Linked DNA regions of Homo sapiens: region 2 is linked to region 1. The links are contacts of gene promoters, found by promoter capture Hi-C in blood cells and fetal thymus (Javierre and others, 2016). All regions are on one chromosome and are shown on one strand. Each heading gives the region's core, a stretch centred on a gene start or on the middle of the fragment in contact. The rest is flanking DNA. Distances are from core to core; before and after follow the strand shown. Region 1 holds the start of GJB4 (gap junction protein beta 4). Region 2 overlaps CSMD2 (CUB and Sushi multiple domains 2).

Region 1 (6,667 bases), core at 1,336-3,835:
TGGGAAAATCATATTTATTAAGAGGTTTGACATATACTGTTGCCATATACAAAATCCCCAGTAGCTATCAACCTCCCTCCCCTGAGGCTCAGGACCCAGGGACCAAACTACCCCCAACCTCCCACATTGGCCCCTGGGCGAGCTTCCTGAGCCCCCACAGCCACCCTCCTCACCACCCTGCTACGGCAAGGATGCCACTGCCCCTGCCTTTTTTCCTGGGTGGCCTCATGTGGGGGGGACCTGTTGATCTTATCTGCTGATCTCGCAGGTTATGGATACCCACCTGCATCCACTGGGGCCGACCCAGCCTTCATTAGGACAGAGTTCCCATCCTCAGGGTGCCCTCCCTGGGAGAGGACATATGGTGGGCACGTATCGGGTAGGCATTCCCGGCACCGAGGCCGCCGGTGCCTGGGGCCGAAGATCTCCATGCACCTCTTGCCCACCAGGTAGAAGACTTCACTGAGGTTGAGCAGGATGCAGATGGCAGCTGTGGTCACCATGAAGTAGGTGAAGACCTTCTTCTCCGTGGGCCGGGAGATGTAACAGTCCACAGTGTGGGGGCAAGGCTCCACGGAGCAGGCCACCACGCGGGGCATGTCATAATCCTTGTAGAGGCGGTGGAAGATATAGAGGAAGCCAGCATCCACGGCGGCCTTGAAGATGAGGCTCAGCAAGTACGTCCACCACAGTCCGCCCCGCTTCTTGCTCAGGTTGTCGTACAGGGACGGGGCATTGGGCCCGTGTTTCAGGTGGTGCTTGCGCTCGCGTTCCTCGCGGTAGGCCACGTGCATGACCACGAGCAGTGAGGGGCACGTGACCAGGATGAGCTGTAGGGCCCAGAGGCGCACGTGGGACACGGGGAAGAACTCGTCATAGCAGACGTTGGGGCAGCCGGGCTGCTTGGTGTTGCAGACAAAGTCCTTCTGCTCATCGTCCCACACCTCCTCCGCTGCCACCACGTACACCAGCACACGAAAGATGAACACCACAGACAGCCAGATGCGGCTCAGCACTGTGGAGTACTTGTTCACGCCACTCAGCAGGCCCTGCAGAAATGCCCAGTTCATGCTGGCTGTGTCCTGGGTGCTGCACGTGGAAGGTCTATACCTGGGTGCTACCTGCCCACTCAGGCCTTGGGAGCCTTGAGGCCTGGGGGAACCTGGAGATGGGCACCCTTAATGCTGGTGCGATTGACAAAATCTTTTCACAATCACCGTGTCATCATGTCTTCACTCCCAATGACTTGGTAGGGTAGGGATTGCCCCTGTCCTCATTTCACAAAGAGTAAGTGAAGGCCCAGAGATACCTGCCCAATGGTCCACAGATGGAAGTAGCAGAGCTAATCTTGCACTTTGGTCTTCAGGTTCCAAAATCAGGGTCTACCTTATTCTACAAGGTAATAGATACATGTGAAGACAATCATCCTGCATGGATATGCCAGCCAACCTCTATTACCCCAAGTTTCAGCCCATGTCTTCTAAAGAGACCGTAGGAAGGCTTGAATTGGACGATCTGCTCTCCCATCAGCTGCCAGGGCTGGGCCAGGGCAGGAGGGGTGGGAACGTATCCTTATCAGTTGTCAGATCCATCCCACTTTTACTGAACACCAACAAGAGCCTGGCCCCGTGTTGGGGACGTTCACATCAGCCCCTTGGTAAATCCCAGAACAATCTGCATCCTTACTCCTTGCCTCTGGCTCCAGGAAGGTTCTCAGCCCTGGCATTCCCTCCCAAACTAAACAGAGGTGCTTTGGAATCACGGGGACTTGATATCATCCCTGCCAACCCGTGTACTGGTGCTGGGGCCTGAGGGCTGACTGTCTTGACCACAGTGGGTTCCTCTGGAATTCCAACCATTCCAGCTTTAGGAAGGACTGAGGATGGATTCTGGCATGGTCTGGACCCCCCATTTACTTTCTCTGGGGGCACCCCCTCCTCTGTCCATTTAGTGGCTGTTTGCTAGCCGCATTTCCATTATTTCCTCTCAGGCCCCTCTCCTGTGGACTCTGACCTCCACACCCCCTTGTCTGGAGTCCCCATCAGGCCCCATGTCCAACCCTCCCCTCCTCCTACCCTCCTCCTTCCCCATCCCCAATCCCTGACTCTGCTCTCAGCCTCTTCAGACATCGTGTGCCTGGGACACTTTCAGAGCAAGAGGCATCGCCTGTACCCAAATGGTCTATTTACCTGTCTTATTTTTTTGCCAGGCTGTCAGCTGCTAGAGGGCAGGCTCTTCACCTCTGTCTCCCTAGCACCTAGCACTGGCCTGGCCCAGTGAACACACAATAGATGTTTGTTAAACTGAACTGAAACCCATTTCTTCCTGATACCCCCTCTTCCCCAATCTTCTGTCGTCCCTTAGGTCAGCCAGGACATTCCTTCTCCTCCTTGGCACTTCCCTGGGGATCCTCTAGGGACACTGACCCTCTGGCTCCCTCCCTGAAGCCCAGCCCACAGCCTGAGGTCCCTTGGATATCCTCAGCTCAGCTGGTTGCTTGCTTCCTGGCCAGCCTCCTGCCCTATTCGGTCCTCACCCTTCTTGGGTCCAGTAGCTGCTTCCTTGTCCTTGGGCTTGTCTGTTTGCCTCAGGACCTCCCGGAGGCAGCTTTTGTTCCTCTCTCCCTTGCTGGGTGGGGCTTTCTGGGCCAATGAGCCAAGCGAGAGTGATTGGGTGGGCAGGCAGGAGGGCGGACTTCCCCGGGCACATACTCAGAGCAAACACCTGCGGCTCTTCTCTCCTGGCCCACGCCTCCTCTCTAGCCTGGCTGGGTATGGCTGAGCCTGGCTCCCAGGCAGGCAGGTATGTGGGTGAGACTGCTGTGTGGGGTTCAGGAGCCTGATATCATTATGCCTAGGCCTAGGACAGCACCAGTGGGATTGACCCTGTCCCCTTCCCATTGCCTCCTTACCCTGCCTCCTTGCCCTCTCTCCTGCCCTTTTCCTGGGAAGCCTGATACTGAGGTCTCAGCAGCTGACATCTACGGAAAGGGGCAACCTTAATTTAGTGCAGGAACGCATCCCATTCTGGTGGTGGGATATTTCTGGGACTGGAGTCTGGAAGCTCTTGGATTGTGTAGGAAATGGGAGGGGTCAACTATGACTTTTCTAGACCAGGGCACCCATAGCCTTGGTGGAGGCAAGGAATGCAGGTCAGCAGCATGAAATGCCCCAGTTAGCACAGGGCCAGGCACAGCATCGCTGTCCATCCTCTGTGGGTCCTGGGGAAGGCCTCCAGGGAGGCTGGAGTGTGACCTCACATATGCTGGTGGGGGGCCTGGGACCTGTGTTCTGGCTGGGATGATGAAGGTTAATGTGCAGCTAGGGAGGGGCCTTCTGCCTCGTTTCTCACAGGCATTATCAAGCACTTCCTAATACCAATGATTAACATTTATGTGTCCTTTTACAGCTGGCTAGCCCTGTCCACAGCCATGAGCTCATCAGTCCTCAGCACAACCCCACAGGCTAGGTATTATTAACCCATTTTGGAGAGAAGCTTAAGTTACTTTCCCAGAGTCCCGGTGGAACTTGGATTCGACACAGGCATTCTAAGTTCATGAACTTCCCACTGCAACATGGACTAAGCTCCATTCTCTCTGCAGACAACCCACAGGACTAAACTTGCCATGGGGGATAAAGGCTAGATGGGAGCATGAGCAAGTAGCACGTCCCCTGGAGTACTGGGGGCCCCCTTTCTGGAAGAGAGGATGCCCCTCACAGGCTGGATCAAGTGCAGCTCTTCACGGGGGCAGAGAGATTGACACCATGAACGTGTGAGGGTCACGAAGGCCGCACAACCAGAGGGCACCTGGAACCAGCAAATGAGTTGACTTTTATTAAGTTCTGACAGTGGGCCACACACGATGAAGGTGCCCGCATGTGTGTTCTTCTATGAACGCCCTCCTCCCTCCAACCCTGGGCATTGGCCCTCACTATTTCCATTCTAGAAAAGGAAACCGAGCTGCAGAGCAGAGGGGGAACTGGCCCAGTGCCGTCGAGCTGGGGCAGGTGGCTGGAGTTGAGGACTAGGAACTGGCTCCCAGAGCGTCTGAATCCTCTCTCTTGCCTGCCCCTACCTCATGGCTTAGCTCCCCCACTCTCAGGTTGCACCTATGAGAGATGCTAGAGCCTCCCCATCCAGGCCCAACCTGCCAGACCAGTCCAGGCAGCCCCTCACAAGATGGTTTTCTTCACATGGTCTCGGGGGCGGTCTGGTAAGAGAGGAGGATGACTGTCTGAGCCCAGAAAGATGAGGTCACCCGAAAGGAGGTCGTCTTGTTTGCAGGAAGAGGTGGTACCGTGGGGGTGATGACCTGTGCACATGGCTTGAGCTTTCCTTGCTGCCAGGCACTCGTGGCATCTCTTGCTCACCAGGTAGATGAGCTCCACGAGGTTGAGCAGGATGCAGATGGCAGCTGTGGCCACCATGAAGAGGGTGAAAATGTTCTTCTCTGAGGGCTTGGAGATGAAGCAGTCCACTATATTGGGACATGGATCTGCGTGGCACTTGACCACAGGAGGGAGGATATATTTGGGGTAGAATGAGTGGAACACATAGAGAAAGGCGATGTCCACGCTCGCCTTGAACACTAGGCTGCAGACATATGTCCACCAGAGCCCACCCCGCTTCTTGCCGGGGTTCAGGTAGAGGCGCCCACTGTTCTCCCCATGGGCTTCTCGGTGCCTCTTCTCCTGAACCTCCCGGTAGGCCACGTGCATGACCACGAGCAGTGAGGGGCATGTCACCAGGATAAGCTGCAGGGCCCAGAGGCGCACATGGGACACAGGGAAGAACTCATCAAAGCAGACGTTGGAGCAGCCGGGCTGGCGAGTATTGCAGTCGAAGTCCTTGTGGTCATCACTCCACACACGCTCGGCCGTCACCAGGTACACCAGCACGCGGAAGATGAAGACCAGAGACAGCCAGATGCGCCCAAAGGCTGTGGAGTACTTGTTGACCCCACTCAGGAGTCCCTCAAAGATACTCCAGTTCATGGTGGACCCACGCGTCAGCTGCTACTGCAGGGAAACAAGAACAATCATTTCCTACATTTATCACAGACTTGCTCTGAGCACTTTGTAGAAATATGTCATCACATTTCATCCTTACCATCACTAGAGGAGCTGGGTTCTACTACTGTCCCCATTTTGTAGAGGGAGGGAGCTGAGGTTTAGTGGCATTATATACAAGGTTACACAACTATTAGGTGCAGGGCTGGGATTTGAGCATAGGTAATTAAGTCCAGAACCCAGCTCTTACCAATACCAGTGGATAAGGGCAGGTCCAGGGAGCCACTCATTCCTCCCCGGGCCTGAGGCTCTGGTCTTGAGGTTCTGCAGAGTGAAGACTGGTGGAGCTGGGACATTCTGCCTGCTCCCTCTGTTTCAACCCTGGCCCTCCTCCTCAGGGGGGCTGAGCCTTGAGATGGTTCTCTCCTTTCTGAGCACTGCTGCCTCTTCTCAGACAGCCCCTTCCCCAGGGGAACCTGCTCTTTGTCCTTTTCTTGGCTCAGGGATGGGACTGGAAAGGAGGCTGGAACCTTGTCCCCAAGCCCCCATCTGGTCTAACACTCTGTAATTAGCCAGGCAGAGTCCTGCTCAAGTGCCACTCAATGCAATCCAGCTGAAAGCTAAAGCAGGCAGCAATAAATTCTCTTCATACAGTAGGTTTCCTAGAGTAACCTGGTATTCCAGTGTTTCCCAAACAGTGTTCCCTGGAACCCTGTCCCATAGGTTGGCAATAGGAGAAGTGAGAGAAGAGGATTCTGTGTCAAGAAAAGTTGGCAAACATTGGGTTTAGTAAAGTTAAATAGGGTTCTTTTGCTCAACCGTGCTAATAAACTCACTAATAAATTCACCAAAAGAGGTATGAAATATGTGGCATTGCCCAAACTCATTTGCCCACAGAAGCCCTTTTCCTCCTGACATAACATTTATCATCTTGTGGAACAGCCTTGTCAAGACATCAAGTGGGAAATGCTGCTCCTGTCAGTTCTGCTGGTGAATTTGGCCTGATGAACTCACAGAATCAGATTCACCTCCGCGTAAGGACTGTGACTGCTAGGCAGAGTAAGGGGTCCCCACTTCCTCACCCGCGAGTCCTCTGCCTGATTCCTGGAGATGGGGGTGTGTCCATTAAGACCCATGCACTGTGGTTTCAACCAACTGTGCACCCTGGGACCCCAAGGAACCTGTCTGCCTAGCCACTAAAGGGCTCATGATGGCCTTCCCATGCTGGTCCAGGCTGAAGCTCACCAGGCTCTCTGGAGCCTCTGCATGATCAACTGCAAAGCAGAGTAGTGATAACAGCCAATATCCATGAAGCATTCATGCCGTGCCAGGCACCGCTCTAAGTTCTTTGTATGAATCAGTACATTATTCCTTCACAGCAACCTTAGGAAAGGGCATATTTTTTATTCCCAATTTACAGATGAGGAAAGAGGAACACAGAGGGATTAATTAACTTGCTCAACGTCACACAGCTAATAAGTGGCAGAGCTAGGATTTGAACCCAGGCAGGCTGGCTCTAGAGCCCACCCTCCGGGAACTGCCCAGCCTTAGGCCTCAGACCCTTTCCTCAAGTTTCAATGAGCTGCCTGCCTGTTTGTGTGCAGACGGATTCTGTCCTTCCCCTTGTGTGTGGATCCTGGATGAGGGTGGCTGGGGGA
Region 2 (6,667 bases), core at 1,777-4,276, 1.2 Mb after region 1:
GAATCGGCCAGGATTCAAGCTGGAGTATCAGGGTAAGGACAAGGAGCACCGCCTTTGCTTCTCTGTCTATCTCCATCTCTTGCCCCAGCCACCCACCTTCCCAGCCTTCCATGTGGGGGAAAACAGAACACCATAAGGGGTGGGTTGCGGTGGCAGGCCCAGTCAGGGAAGCTTCCTTTTGGTGGCAGATCTCTCCGGACCCCATTTGTCAGCTTAAGTTCTCCCACAGCCTTTTCAAGAGTGGCAGGCCCAACAGCACCCTCTGAGGCTCCCACTCTGTACAGCTGTCCCTGGGCAAGTGGCCCATCTGTGCCTTCTCAGGTGTCCCAAACTGTCCAGCCAGTCACTTCCCCTCGGGCTTGATAAACTGAATTACTTCCCCAGGGTCCTTCCCTGCACATCAAGCCCAATTACTCTCAGCAAAGCTCTTCCTATGACAGGATGGAGGATTCTAGTAACAGTCCCAAGGGCACCTCTAAGCCTTGCACAAGGAGCAGGTTTTCCTGTGAGGCCCAACCACACTCACCACAGCTCCACCTCTCTGAAGTGGGATCCCGTGACCGGCCCCACTCATTCTGGGACATTCCCTGGAAAGAGCCCCATCTACACTCAGGTTCCCCTGTGTTGTAGACCATCCATCACCTGTGGATGTGGAGATTGTGCCCAACCTGTGCAGCTGTACATGGTCCTGAGTAAGCCCAACCTCGCCCTTGGATGCTTCCCTTATTGTGACTGACCGAAGCATTTGTTCTAATCCCTTTCCCAGATTCTTCCACTGAATTTTTAAAAATATTTTTAGATTTTTTTTCCAATACTAATTCATGTTTGTAAAAAAAAAAAAAAAAATCTAAACACTGTAGATAATTTTGTGAGCACATTGTGTTAGCTCAGGCTGCTGTAACAAAATACCATAAGCCAAGTGCCTTACAAACAGCAGAAATTTATTTCTCACAGTTCTGAGGGCTAGGAAGTCCAAGATCACAGTGCCAGCAGATTCCGTGTCTGGTGAAGACCCACTTTCTAGTTCATAGACAGTATCTTCTCACTGCGTCCTCACATGGTGGAAGGGGCAAAAGAGCTCTCTCAGGCCTCTTTTATAAGGGAACTAATCCCATTTAGGAGGGTGGGCCACCAAATGCCCTGCCTCCAAATACCCTCACATGAGGGATTAGGTTTCAACATAGGGATTTGATGGGACAGAAATATTCAGGCCCTAACACCCGTCACAGGAAGTCAAAATCCTCCCATAATCCCATCCTGTCACTACCCTATGCAGAGATACACACTTTCAACAATTCAATATGTATTCCCCGCTTTTCTCGGTATATATATTGCTGTAGCTATATTTTTAGCCAAAATTGGATCGTACTATAGTTTTCCAATTTTGTTTTTTAAAGTTAATTTTTAATTACACAAACAATTTACAAACATATTTATCTTTTAAAAAAAGAAAAATACAAGAAAGAAATTAAAACCTTACAAGTAAGGCCAAAGCTCTCTTTGTCTATAGCCTCCAAACCCAGGATTATTCTCCAGAAACGGCTACTATTGTTTAGTTGTGACCTTTCCAGGCCTGGATATATGTATGCTACATGTACCTGTGAAAAATATGTAACATTTTATAAAATTTTTTGACCACGTTTTCTATATAAATAGTACCATCCTATATGCAGCTTTCTGAGAGTTGACTTCTTTATTCTGGAAATAATATGGTGGGGATGGAGCTCCTCCCTTGCCAGAGAAGAATACTGAGGGGGTACTGGGCTTCTCATTTAGGGAAAGCCTTAAAGGGCATCCCACGAGGTGGGTGCAACTGAATCAGTTCTGCAGGAGACTTCAGGGTTCCGGGGTCCATCTCAGGGAAAGCTTTGGTAAGTGCGGCTGGGCTTGTCATCTAGAGGGAGCCTCAGGAGAAGCTGGGCCTTGCACCCAGACAGAGCCACTTCACTGGTGTTAGCACAGCTGCCACACCCAGGGAAGGTGTGTGCAGGCTCATCACAGAGGCCAGCCTTGCCCAAGGATGTCTGTGCCTATTATCTGGGAGGTGTGTACCTGTCAAACAGGTCATGACGCGTCGGATGGCCGTGATGTCACAGGAGGGACTTGGTCCCAAATATGTCCTCTCAGAGACAGATGCAACGCCTTCCCCCAAGGCTTTCCTGTGTCTTAGTTTGTTAGGGCTGCCATAAGAAAGTACCACAAACTGGGTGGCTTAAACAACGGAAACTTACTGTCCAATGGCTCTGGGGCTGGATGGTCAAGATCAAGGTGTCAGCAGAGTTGGTTCCTTCTGAGGCCCATGAGGGAGACTCTGTCCGGGCCCCTCCCCTGGCTTCTGGTAGTTCATGACAATCTTGGCATTCTCAGCTCTTAGAAGTATCACCCCGACCTCTGGCTTCATCTTCACATGGTGCTCTTCATGTGCCTCTGTCTCCAAATTCCCACCTTCTATAAAGACACCAGTCATATTGGATCAGAGCCCACCCTAGTGACCTCATTTTAATTTCCATAAGTTTGGTAAAGATCCTGTCTATTTCCCATAAGGTCATATTCACAAGGAGTGAAGTCTTCAGCATATGAATTTTGGGAGACATATTTCAGCCCCTTGCACCCCTCCCAGGCCCAAGTGCTCTCTCCCTGAGACCTTCCTTCTCGGATAAATATAAGGAATGGCAGTGCCACCATTGTGCCAGGGACAGCTGCCCTGGGCCCACCCCGTGCACTGTGCCTTCACCCTAGACAATGGGCACGGTCCTGCCACTGAATCCCTGTGATGGGACCAGCCACTCGCTGTGCTCCCCGTGTGATGAGCCCACTTGTCCTTGTAAAGGTTGTGCCTGTGTGACCGCCTCAGATTCTCCATTGACTCCCTCGACAGAAGAGGCCTAACTACCCCCACAGAGCCCTGGCCTTGGGCTCACTCGCCCCTGATTCCCCAGCCCCCATCTTTGGAAATGCTCCCACTATGGCCACCCTGCACAAGGGGCCCCGCTGTCCCCCTGAGGTTTCCTGGACGACAAGCCAACATTCGGGACTAGTGTCCCTCCCTGGGATGGGCCTGTCTCTCCCACTGAGGTTTGCAGCCTCCACAGGCCCAGTCCTCCTCTGATAACTTTCCCTGCGTAGGGAGGCCAGGGGGCAGCGAGTTGCCTTCAGACACCCAGCTCCTCCACCAGGAGTTGGCCCAACATGTGAGAGGCACAGCGACATCCAATGGGGCTTCCACCCTATAATGGGCCCCCTCCTCCCACAAGCATGTGACCTTCAGGACTTGCCTGGATGTTCCCCTTCAGTCCCAGGCACAGCCACTCCCTCAGCGTTCACCTGTCTGCCACAGTCCCAAGGACTCCTGTGGAGCCACACATGGTGCCGGGGCACCTGCTCCCCTCAGACTTGGGCTCCACCCCTATTAAGGCTTCTCGTTTGGGGCGATCCCAACCTCTTGGGCTAGGTTGCCTCTAGGGCCAGAGGCCTAAGTATTCCCACAGAGGCCTCATCATTTGTGATAGGCCCAAATAACTCTCCCTGACCATAAGCCCACACTCTCTGTTTACACCTTCCTCCGCCGTACGGAGCGGCACCTCGTAAGCAAGCTCTGACCACTCTCCCCAGGTTTTTCCTCTGGGGAAAAACCCAGCTTCAATGAACGAGCCATTTGTCCCCACTGAGGCTGTTTCTGTCAGACCCAGCTCTCTATGGCCCCTCGACTTTCCTTAGAAGTCCAACTCTTTACTCTTTCTCAAAATTCCTCCAACTGATACTCTGCACTTCCCATGCTAGGGTCTTCTTTTCTCTTCTTTAAGTAAAGATTCCCATCAAGTTCTTAGTAGCAGCATAAGCAACTCCTAGCCAGGCCTCCCGGTCCGACATGCTTAATGTGTTCCATGACAATTTCTCAGGAGGGTTCTGTTTATAAAGAACTTAGCAAAATGGCTAAGATGTACAATTGTCCCCAAATGCTAGGCATCATCATTATTAATGTTTTAAAATAATGGCATTTTGCTTGAAATTGTATCTACCTGATTATGGCACTTTGTTTGGAAGTGTGTTCCCACTGTCACCAGGTGTGTCCCTTTAGAACAAACCCACTTGCTTTCCTGAGGAGTCCTTCTTTGGGGAAGTTCATCCTTCCTCCTCTTAGGGTTTATTTCTGCCTTATATGGCCAACCTCTCCCTTTGAAGCTTCTTGCAGGGGAACAGGCTCTGAGGTTTCTCTCAGTGTTGAGGTACTCTCACTGAAGTTTCTGTCTTTTTGAAGAGCCTAGATCCTTCCACTGGAGATGATTCCTGTAGGAGAGGCCCAGCTGCTCTCATCAAGGCTGCTCCTGGCTTCCCACACACAGCCACTCCCTTCCTTCTCTCCCCGTCTCTGAGTCCACGTGGCTACCCTGAGCCTTTCTGTAAAGACCCAACCCATCCCATTGGGTTGCCTCCCTGGGCAAAAGGCCCCCTGCTTCCGCTGAGACTTTCGTTGCCAAACGGCCCAAACCCCCGTGCTGCAGGGCCAGGCCTGTCCTGGGGCTAAGCAGCCACCCCACCCATGTGGTTGCTCAGTTTTTGGCACACCCAATTACCTCAATGATTTCCCAGGGAAACCTGCCCAGTTCCTCCCCCTGAGACTTCCCTGTGAGGTACTGAATGGAAACATAACACAGCCACGTGAGTGCTCAGGAAATGTTATCTTCAAGATCCGCGTTATTGATGTTGTTATTACGTATGAGAAACACATGTACTTCTAAGAAGCATCTATCCAGTCCCAACTACTTCCACTGAGGATTCCCACTGTAGGAACGTTCTGTCTCCTCCCGCTGCCAATTTCCTGAGTGGAGTGGGCGCAATTACTGCCACGAAGGCTGTTCTGTGTCCTGTGGACCCAATTCATCAAAGGCCTTGCTCAGGAATCCCTCAGCAGCCTCTCCCCAATGGACTGGCCTCAGCTGCTTCCATGGAGGCATCTCCTGTGGAGTCAGGCCACCCACTCTCATGGAAACAGCTTCCCTGCCCTTTGGAGGGACTTGCTTTGTGACAGCCACACGTCCCTTAGCCCAGCTACTCCCTCTGAAAAGCTTCTCTCCTTGCCACAGATTTGACTTACTCCCACCAGATTTCTTCCTTCCTGAGAGGTTTTGATCTCTCGGAGTTGGAAAGAACCAACTCAACTCCTCCCGTCGCCGCTTCCTATGTCTGGGATCTTGATCCTGGTTGTGAAGGTTCAATGAGATAAGCAACATGAAAGGAGTTAGGCTGGTGCCTGGCCCCCAGTGGCACTCAGTGAATAGAGGTTCAATTGAGCAATGTCTTCCTTGAGCCTCCTTTTCCTACGGAATTACTAATAATAGATACTATTTACTGAGCTTTCACCATGTGCCAGTACTGTGGAAAGAGCTATGTATGTGTTATCCTACTTAGTCCTCAAAATAATCATTCTATACACAGGAAAACTGAGGCGTACACAAGTTAAATTACTTACCCAAAGCCAATGACTTGTACATGACAAAGGTCCATCTGAGTCCAAATCTTGAGGCTTCACCACTATGCTTTCTGCCGCTCCTATTTTCTGGTCAGAGAGAATAAAGTGACCTTTTCTCCGGATCTTTTCCAGCCTATGAACTTCAAGAGTGCCCAGACCCAGAGCCCTTTGCCAATGGCATTGTGAGGGGAGCTGGCTACAACGTGGGACAATCAGTGACCTTCGAGTGCCTCCCGGGGTATCAATTGACTGGCCACCCTGTCCTCACGTGTCAACATGGCACCAACCGGAACTGGGACCACCCCCTGCCCAAGTGTGAAGGTATGTCGCTCCCTCATCCCCAGCAGTTCTTCCTGGGGTACTCGTGGAGACTGGTCCAGAGCAATCCCATGTTCCACCTACCTGCTCTGTGGGATCTCCAGGGCTGGAGGTCCAGGCAAACTGTGGTCCATCCTGTTTTCACATGGTGTGGCCCAGCCTCTCCAGGGAGAGGGTCCTGGTGACAGGGCTCCGGGCCAGCACTAGGGAGGACCTGGAGGAGATGTGGGCCACAGCCAAGAGGAAGACACACCCAGCCCTTGGGAAGATCCACCCTGACAGACTGGAGGACTCCCATTGGAAGGGAAGGCTCCATGTGAGGGAGTGGGAGCCCAGTGGTATGCTGAGAGCTAGAGAGGTAGAGTTAATCCAGGCACCTGCCCAAAGGGAGAAGAGCATGAAGCCTCTTTATAAGAACTCTCTTGCTCCCCTCTTCATCTTCCCCCTCCCTGCTCCATTATACTCTCCTTCTACACAGGGCTGGAGAGACCTGAGTTGATCTATCAGGGAGCTGGAGGTGGCACTTTCTTGGGTCTTCTTCCTTACCCAGAACCAGGAAGGAAGGTGACCAAGAGCTTGTGCTGCCTCCACCCTCATCTGCACACTTCAGTTCCATTTGCCTTCCCTCTTCATTCTGGCATCCCATCATTTTCCTGGAGGAGTGGCAGAAATTTGTCTTGAAAAAGGAAGCCTTAGCAAGGGCAGTAATCCAGGAAAGAGTGCCCCAGCTCTAGGATCAGATCACCCCAGGCTCCAACTCAAACCCCTTTGCCTCTCTAAGCTTCAGGTTCTTCCTCAGTAAAGTGGGACTTCTCATCTTTATTTCACAAGAGCTGGAGGACTTCACAGATGGCTCACTCTCAGACTCAAACTCTCAGT

The links. The method cuts DNA at HindIII sites, captures the fragments that hold promoters and counts their contacts. A CHiCAGO score of 5 or more calls a contact.
Region 2: a fragment that was not itself captured here is called in contact with the fragment with the promoter of GJB4 in region 1 in 1 of 17 cell types (endothelial precursors); the score reaches 5.0 in endothelial precursors.

The regions. Positions count from the first base shown.
Region 1 is chr1:34,755,658-34,762,324 of GRCh38, reverse strand. GJB4 (gap junction protein beta 4) reads right to left here and starts at 2,585. Exons shown (of 2, transcript NM_153212.3): 1 at 2,537-2,585; 2 at 1-1,392. The coding sequence starts at 1,070. The coding sequence ends at 270. It overlaps GJB5 (gap junction protein beta 5), which reads right to left. Exons shown (of 2, transcript NM_005268.4): 2 at 3,813-5,018. The coding sequence starts at 4,994. The coding sequence ends at 4,173. The HindIII fragment of the contact is 14,269 bases long and covers 1-3,497 here.
Region 2 is chr1:33,604,406-33,611,072 of GRCh38, reverse strand. CSMD2 (CUB and Sushi multiple domains 2) reads left to right here. Exons shown (of 71, transcript NM_001281956.2): 41 at 1-32; 42 at 5,603-5,791. Among named protein-coding and RNA genes, the nearest start is that of ZSCAN20, 140 kb to the right of the region's middle. RefSeq lists enhancers at 2,610-3,110, 3,111-3,611, 4,889-6,088. The HindIII fragment of the contact is 2,316 bases long and covers 1,869-4,184 here.